Regions from separate parts of the Homo sapiens genome. Here region 2 is linked to region 1. Evidence: promoter capture Hi-C in human tissues and cell types (Jung and others, 2019). All regions are on one chromosome and are shown on one strand. Each heading gives the region's core, a stretch centred on a gene start or on the middle of the fragment in contact. The rest is flanking DNA. Distances are from core to core; before and after follow the strand shown. Region 1 holds the start of CST5 (cystatin D). Region 2 has its middle 12 kb from the start of CST2.

What was found. The method cuts DNA at HindIII sites, captures the fragments that hold promoters and counts their contacts. A contact is called where the count stands out against the background at its distance.
Region 2: a contact is called between a fragment that was not itself captured here and the fragment with the promoter of CST5 in region 1, in 2 of the 25 tissues and cell types used here (H1 embryonic stem cells and spleen).

The regions. Positions count from the first base shown.
Region 1 is chr20:23,877,386-23,881,495 of GRCh38, forward strand. CST5 (cystatin D) reads right to left here and starts at 2,363. Exons shown (of 3, transcript NM_001900.5): 1 at 2,061-2,363; 2 at 120-233. The coding sequence starts at 2,291. RefSeq lists an enhancer at 1,856-2,685. The HindIII fragment of the contact is 5,935 bases long and covers 1-4,110 here.
Region 2 is chr20:23,836,762-23,840,871 of GRCh38, forward strand. No RefSeq gene overlaps it. Among named protein-coding and RNA genes, the nearest start is that of CST2, 12 kb to the left of the region's middle. The HindIII fragment of the contact is 4,139 bases long and covers 1-3,902 here.

The DNA.
Region 1 (4,110 bases), core at 1,113-3,612:
CACACATGCCCTCCAAAGCATGTGCAGGAGTACAGATGCGTGCACACACACATACACACACACACATGCACACACTGCTCTGCGGTACTTGATGCCCCTGACCCACATCAGGCACATACCTCTTTCAGTTTTGGCTGGTCATTGAAGGGACAGTTGTCCAAGTTGGGCTGGGACTTGGTGCATGTGGTTCGACCGAACTTCACATTGAAGTAGTAGTTCACCCCACCCACGATCTACACGCGTGGAAGAGCAGGAAGCAGGGGCAGCATGCTGTCAGTTTCATGCACACGCAGGCACTTCACTGTGACTGAGTCACTGGGCTTGCCTGGGGCTTCATGCCCACACTGTCACCCAAAAGGCACACAAGCCACCTTCTCCTGCTGGCTGGCAGTGGTAGTGTGTCCCAGTCCTTCCTAGTAACTTGTTTTCTCTGGGTATCTCAAGCAAGCTGTCTCATGCAGCCCAGTAGAAAGAGAAGCAGGGGCAGGGCAGATGGAAGCCAGGGCCTAAAACCCCCTTCACTGGATTCAGGAACAGAAGGCACAGCTCTGGGGAACCAGCCAGGGTGGGACAAAGAAACAGTCCTGGCACCAGGCTTGCAGGGCAGGGTCTAAGCACCAAGTGAATGCTCTTTCCCACAGCAAAGGATTAACTGAATTCTGCTACCTGTGCTCAGGGGGCAGGGACACTGGTCCCATCCTAGGAAGGCTGCCACCTGATGATGAAATTTCAGCTAACTTCCAGCTCCTGGCATTCAGTCCACAGAGCATCTCATTCCTGCCATTTAACCCAGAGGTATTTTTCCTCATTTCTCAGTAGGAGATGAGATGCTCACATACATTGATGTTTTAGGCCAATAAACATTGCCTCCTGCATGCCTCCATTCCAGGTGTGATTTTCAAGGCAATATTTCTAAAGTGAGTCACACACCTGCATGTCTTAGGGTTGCAACTTCAGAAGAGAACTGAATGCTTTCCCTGCACAGTGCCGCCCCAAAACATGACTTGTCAGAACTGTGGAGAAGCATGGGATGAGGGACCCTGGGACCAGGGTGCTAGACCTTGCCCTGTGGAACCACACACAAGTCCTGTAGAACCACATGGAAGTCCTGTGATCCCTCCGGTGTCAGTCTGCTGCTCTGTAAAATAGGCTCCAGGGCCCAACGATCTACATCATTCTGTGCTTCACTCCCAGTGAGTGACACACTTAAGAGGGAGTGCAGGCCAGCAGGGACCACAGCACCAGGGAATGCCCCTCCTGTGCAGGGAGAGGGCTGCAGGAGGAGAAACAGGGCTGGTCTGGACTCCTCTGACTTTCCAAGAGAAGGTGGAGGAGCTCTAAAGGCTGGCAGGCCATATAGCCCTGTGGTCGCTGTGTCACTGCTGCTCTGCCATGGGACGTAGGTCAAGCTGGGCTCGGTAGCCCTGCTGAAGCTTCCTCCCTCTGGACCCAACCACCTCCTTCACTCTGCTGGGTGATTGCTGTCCTCATTTTGCTGAGGTCTAACTCTGCGTTAGCTGGCAGAGGCAGGGTCAGGCATGCTCTACCCCAGCAGGAACTCAGCTGTCCTGGGCTGTAGGGGGTGGTCAGCCAGCCTGAGAGTGAAGGCCACTAGCCATAACGGGCTGTGCCCAGGGGCGTGACTTGGGAGGGAAGCGGGGCTATCCAGGACAAGGAGTCAGGTTCCCGTGTGGCCCCTGTGGAGAGGACTCAGGGAGGAAGATGAACCTCGTGGCCTGGATCTCATCCTGAGCAGCATCAAGCCCACCCAGAGTCAGCACAGTCTCCATCCACACCTGCTGGACCCTGGGAAATGCCACAGTCATGGTACAGACACAGTGGCTGCTGCAGGTTAAAAGAGGCCGAGGGGACAGGACAGGGCTGAACTCATGCACTCACGGCCAAGGAGTGTCCTAGGGCATGAAGACCATCAGCAGACAGTCAGAGAAAGCTGAATGAGTCTGCGGTTTAGATAATGTTGATTTGCTGGGAGTGCTCTGGGGGGTGAGGCAAAAAACCCAGCTGGGACTCAGGACCCCCAGGGTGGTGGTAGCACGCACCTGCTGGTAGGCAGCCATCACCTGCAGAGGGCGGCTGTAGTACTCATCCTTATTAATGACCTTGTTGTACTCGCTGATGGCAAAGTCCAGGGCACACTGCACACTCTTGTCATTGAGGTCTGTGGCATGGATGCCACCTGCCAAGGTCCTAGATTGGGCCGAGGCACTCCCGGCCACGGCCACCATCAAGGCAGTCAGCAGCAGCAGTGGGGTGTGCATGGGCCACATCATGTTCTACTGGGACACAGAGCAAGGAGCTGGATCTCCCAGAGAGCAAAGCAGCAGAAGGCTGAGGCAGGAAGCCCAGGCCAGAAGCTAGCTGTGCATTTATCCTACTTGGGTGTCCCCCAACCCCACCTGCTCCCTGGCCCCGCCCCTGGCTCCTCCTCCTCTTTCTACCCCTCCTCTTCTGTCTCTATCTCCCTTTCCACCCCCAACCACCTCCCTCCCTCCCTAAGTTCCCTTCGCTCCTCCCATGCCTCCTCCTCATCCTCCTCCCCACTCCTGTCCTGACCGCAACCTCCCCACAGCCCTGCCCCTCTTCCTCAGTGCTCTAAAGCTTGGCTCACTCTGGATTCCAGAGAGGTGACACCGCTCCCTGGGCTGTGAAACCTGGTGACCACCTATGTCCACAGGAAAGGGAGAAATACAGGGCTTGGCCTTCTAAAGTCTTCAGATGTCAGGGGCATCCAGGAGCACGTGGTCATGGTCTGGGAATTCCTGGGGCAGGGAGCTGTTTCAGAAGCTCCGGGATGACCTTGTCCATGCCCTCTTCTGGGGAACTTCTTTGCCAAACATAAAGTAATTAACCTTTGGGTAAAGTTCACTGGGTTCTCGTTTCATAACTCCTCATTATTCAATAAACAAACCTGTCACCAGCTTCCCCCTGCACCAAGCAGTCTGGGCAATAGAGCCGTAGACATGAACTTGCAGAGCTGCCATCCAACAGAGATGTGACAGAAACCCAGGAGCAATTTAAAACACATTTGAAAAAGTTAAAAGATACAGCTGAAAGTAATTTTGGTATTTCTACTTTAACCTAATATATCCAAAATACTTCAACACTTCAGGACTATTCTTAAGGAGCTAGTTTACATTCTTTTGTGTGAGTGTAATGTCTTGAAGTTCCCTGTGTATTTTTTACAGTTAGACCAAGCGTCACTGTGGACTAGCCCCATTTCAAGTGCCCTGTGGCCACGAGTGGCTGCTGGTGGCTGTGGTACTGCATAGCCCAGCCATTAGGGTGTGTGGGAGGATGCAGAGTGGTGATCAACAATTTAGATCAGGGAATTATAGTCGCTCAGTTAGAGAGAGGGTGGGTGCTACTGGACCCTGGTCAGGGAAGTCTCTAAGAGACCGGAAAGGTTGAGAAGCCCCAGGCAGCAGGGAATAGTCAGTGCAAAGGCCCTGAGGCAAGGCTGGGCATGCCTGCTCCAGGAAGAGGAAGCTCCTGGAGGGGGTGTGAGCAGGGAAGGGAACGACCTGGAGTCTCACGGTAACTGTGGGTGTGTCCAGGTGGAAGGCGCAGGGAGACCCCTGGCAGGTGGTGGGGGTGTCAGGAGAAGGAGCAGCAGCCACAGGATGAATGTGGGAGCCCAAGAGCCTCTCTTGCTCCTCCCCTCTGGGAGACGTGCTGCCAGCACTGGTCCTCTGTACACTGCTTGGAAAACTCATGTAATATTTTAAAAATTACATTGAATGAGGTAGAATTTACACACAATAAAATGCCTAATTGTATGTGCCCAATCTGGGGGATTTCATAAATGCATACACTTGTGTTACCACTTTGTCCACACCTGTGATATCTGCCTCACCCCAGATGGTTTCCTCCTGCCTCTGAAGCCCACCCTCATGCCCACCCGACCCTGGCAGCCCACATCTGGTCCTGTGGACTCCTTTGTTGCCTGTCCTTGAGCTTCCCAGGAATGGAATCCTGCAGAGAGAGCCCAGGTGTGTCTTCGTCCTTTGCTCAGCGTGGCTTCATTGCCAGGATTGAGAGTTCTCCTTCTCCACAGACTGAGAGGATGTGGTCAGTTGGGTGCCCTGTGGG
Region 2 (4,110 bases), core at 583-3,082, 41 kb before region 1:
GACCTTACATGACCCGATGGAGCTGAAAGCCATGGCACGAGACATACATGATGCATGCACAAGCTTCAGTAGCCAAATTGATCAAGTGGAAGAAAGGATATCAGTGATTGAAGATCAAATTAATGAAATGAAGCAAGAAGAGAAGTTTAGAGAAAAAAGAGTAAAAACAAATGAACAAAGCCTCCAAGAAATATGTGGCTATGTGAAAAGACCAAATCTACGTTTGATTGGTGTGCCTGAAGGTGATGGGGAGAATGGAATCAAGCTGGAAAATACTCTTCAGGATATTATCCAGGAGAACTTCCCAGACCTAGCAAGGCAGGCCAACATTCAAATTCAGGAAATACAGAGAACACCACAAAGATACACCTTGAGAAGAGCAACCCCAAGACACATAATGGTCAGATTCACCAAGGTTGAAATGAAGGAAAAAATGTTAAGGGAAGCTAGAGAGAAAGGTTGGGTTACCCACAAAGGGAAGCCCATTAGACTAACAGTGGACCTCTCAAAAGAGACTCTACAAGCCAGAAGAGAGTGGGCGCCAATATTCAACATTCTTAAAGAAAAGAATTTTCAACCTGGAATTTCATATCCAGCCAAACTAAGCTTCATAAGTGAGGGAGAAATAAAATCCCTTACAGAAAAAGCAAATGCTGAGAGATTTTGTCACCACCAGGCCTGCCTTACAAGAGCTCCTGAAGGAAGCACTAAACATGGAAAGGAACAACCAGTAGCAGCCACTGCAAAAACATGCCAAATTGTAAAGACCATCCATGCTAGGAAGAAACTGCATCAATTAATGGGCAAAATAGCCAGCTAACATCATAATGACAGGATCAAATTCACACATAACGCTATTAACCTTAAATGTAAATGGGCTAAATGCCCCAATTAAAAGACACAGACTGGCAAATTGGACAAAGAGTGAAGACCCAACAGTGTGCTATATTCAGGAGACCCATCTCACATGCAGAGACAGATATAGGCTCAAAATAAAAGGATGGAGGAAGATCTACCAAGCAAATGGAAAGAAAAAAAAGCAGGAGTTGCAATTCTAGTCTCTGATCAAACAGACTTTAAACCAACAAAGATCAAAAGAGACAAAGAAGGCCATTACATAATGGTAAAGGGATTAATTCAACGAGAAGAGCTAACTCTCCTAAATATATATGCACCCAATACTGGAGCACCCAGATTCATGAAACAAGTCCTTAGAGACCTACAAAGAGACTCAGACTCCCACACAATAATAATGGGATAATTTAACACCCCACTGTCAATATTACACAGATCAATTAGACAGAAGGTTAACAAGGATATTCAGGACTTGAACTCAGCTCTGCACCAAGCAGACCTAATAGACATCTACAGAACTCTCCACCCCAAATCAACAGAATATACATTCTTCTCAGCACCATCTCACACTTATTCCACAATTGACCACATAGTTGGAAGTAAAGCACTCCTCAGCAAATGTAAAAGAACAGAAATCACAACAAACTGTCTCTCACACCACAGTACAATCAAATTAGAACTCAGCATTAAGAAACTCAGTCAAAATCATATAACTACATGGAAACTGAACAACCGGCTCATGAATGACTACTGGGTAAATAACAAAATGAAGGCAGAAATAAAGATGTTCTTTGAAATCAATGAGAACAAAGACACAACATACCAGAATCTCTGGGACACATTCAAAGCAGTGTGTAGAGGGAAATTTATATCACTAAATGCCCACAAGAGAAAGCAGGAAAGATCTAAAATTGACACCCTAACATCACAATTAAAAGAACTAGACACATAAAAGCAAACAAATTCAAAAAGCTAGCAGAAGGCAAGAAATAACTAAGAACAGAGCAGAACCGAAGGAGATAGAGACACAAAAAACTCTTCAAAAAATCAATGAATCCAAGAGCTGTTTTTTTTAAGAGACCAACAAAATTGATAGATGGCTAGGAAGACTAATAAAGAAGAAAAGAAAGAAGAATCAAATAGATGCAATAAAAAATGGTAAAGGGGATGTAACCACCAATCCCACAAAAATACAAACTACTACCAGAGAATACTACAAACACCTCTACTCAAATAAACTAGAAATTCCAGAAGAAATGGATAAATTCCTGGACACATACACCCTCCCAAGACTAAACCAGGAAGAAGTTGAATCCCTGAATAGAACAATAACAGTCTCTGAAATCGAGGCTATAATTAATAGCCTACCAACCAAAAGAAGTCCAGGACCAGAACGATTCACAGCTGAATTCTACCAGTTACAAACAGGAGCTGGTACCATTCCTTCTGAAACTATTCCAATCAGTAGAAAAAGAGGGAATCCTCACTAACTCATTTTATGAGGCCAGCATCATCCCGATACCAAAGCCTGGCAGAGACACAACCAAAAAAGAGAATTTTAGACCAAATCTCCTGATGAACATCAGTGCAAAAATCCTCAATAAAATGCTGGCAAACTGAATCCAGCAGCATATCAAAAAGCTTATCCACCAAGATCAACTTGGCTTCATCCCTGGGATGCAAGGCTGGTTCAACATACGCAAATCAATAAACGTAATCCATCACATAATCAGAACAAATGACGAAAACCACATGATTATCTCTATAGACGCAGAAAAGGCCTTGGACAAAATTCAACAGCACTTCATGCTAAAAAGTCTCAATAAACTAGGTATTGATGGAACATATCTCAAAATAATAAGAGCTATCTATGACAAACCCACAGCTGATATCATACTGAATGGGTAAAAACTGCAAGCATTCCCTTTGAAAACTGCCACAAGACAGGGATGCTCTCTCTCACCACTCCTATTCAACACAGTGTTGGAAGTTCTGGCCAGGGCAATAAGGCAAGTGAAAGAAATAAAGGGTATTCAATTAGGAAATGAGGAAGGTGAATTGTCCCTGTTTGCAGATGACATGATTGTATATTTAGAAAACCCCATCATCTCAGCCAAAATCTCCTTAAGCTGATAAGCAAATTCAGCAAAGTCTAAGGATACAAAGTCAATGTGCAAAAATCACAGGAATTCCTAAACACCAATCACAGAAAAACAGAGAGTCAAATCATGAGTGAACTCCCATTCACAACTGCTACAAAGAGAATAAAATACCTAGGAATCCAACTTACAAGGGATGTGAAGGATCTCTTCAAGGAGAACTACAAATTACTGCTCAATGAAATAAACGAGGACACAAACAAATGGAAGAATATTCCACGCTCATGGATAGGAAGAATCAATATCCTGAAAATGGCCATAATGCCCAAGGTAAATCATAGATTCATGACATCCCCTTCAAGCTACCAATGACTTTCTTCACAGAATTGGAAAAAACTACTTTAAAGTTCATATGGAACCAAAAAAGAGCCCGCATCGCCAAGTCAATCCTAAGCCAAAAGAACAAAGCTGGAGGCATAATGCTACCTGACTTCAAACTATACTACAAGGCTACAGTAACCAAAACAGCATGGTACTGGTACCAAAACAGTGATATAAACCAATGGAACAGAAGAGAGCCCTCAGAAATAACTCCACACATCTACAACAATCTGATCTTTGACAAACCTGACAAAAACAAAAATGGGGAAAGGATTCTCTATTTAATAAATTGTGCTGGGAAAACTGGCTAACTATATGTAGGGAGCTGAAACTGGATCCCTTCCTTATATCTTATACAAAAATTAATTCAAGATGGATTAAAGACTTAAATGTTAGACCTAAAACCCTTAAAACACTACAAGAAAACCTAGGCAATACCATTCAGGACATAGGCACGGGCAAGGACTTCATGACTAAAACACCAAAAGCAATGGCAACAAAAGCCAAAATAGACAAATGGGATCTAATTAAACCAAAGAGCTTCTGCGCAGCAAAAGAAACTACCATCAGAGTGAACAGGCAACCTAGAGAATGGGAGAAAATTCTTGCAATCTATCCATCTGACAAAGGGCTAATATCCAAAATCTACAAAGAACTTAAACAAATTTAGAAGAAAAAATCAAACAACCCCATCAAAAAGTGGGCAAAGGATATGAACAGACACTTGTTAAAAGAAGACATTTATGTAGCCAACGGACACATGAAAAAATGCTCA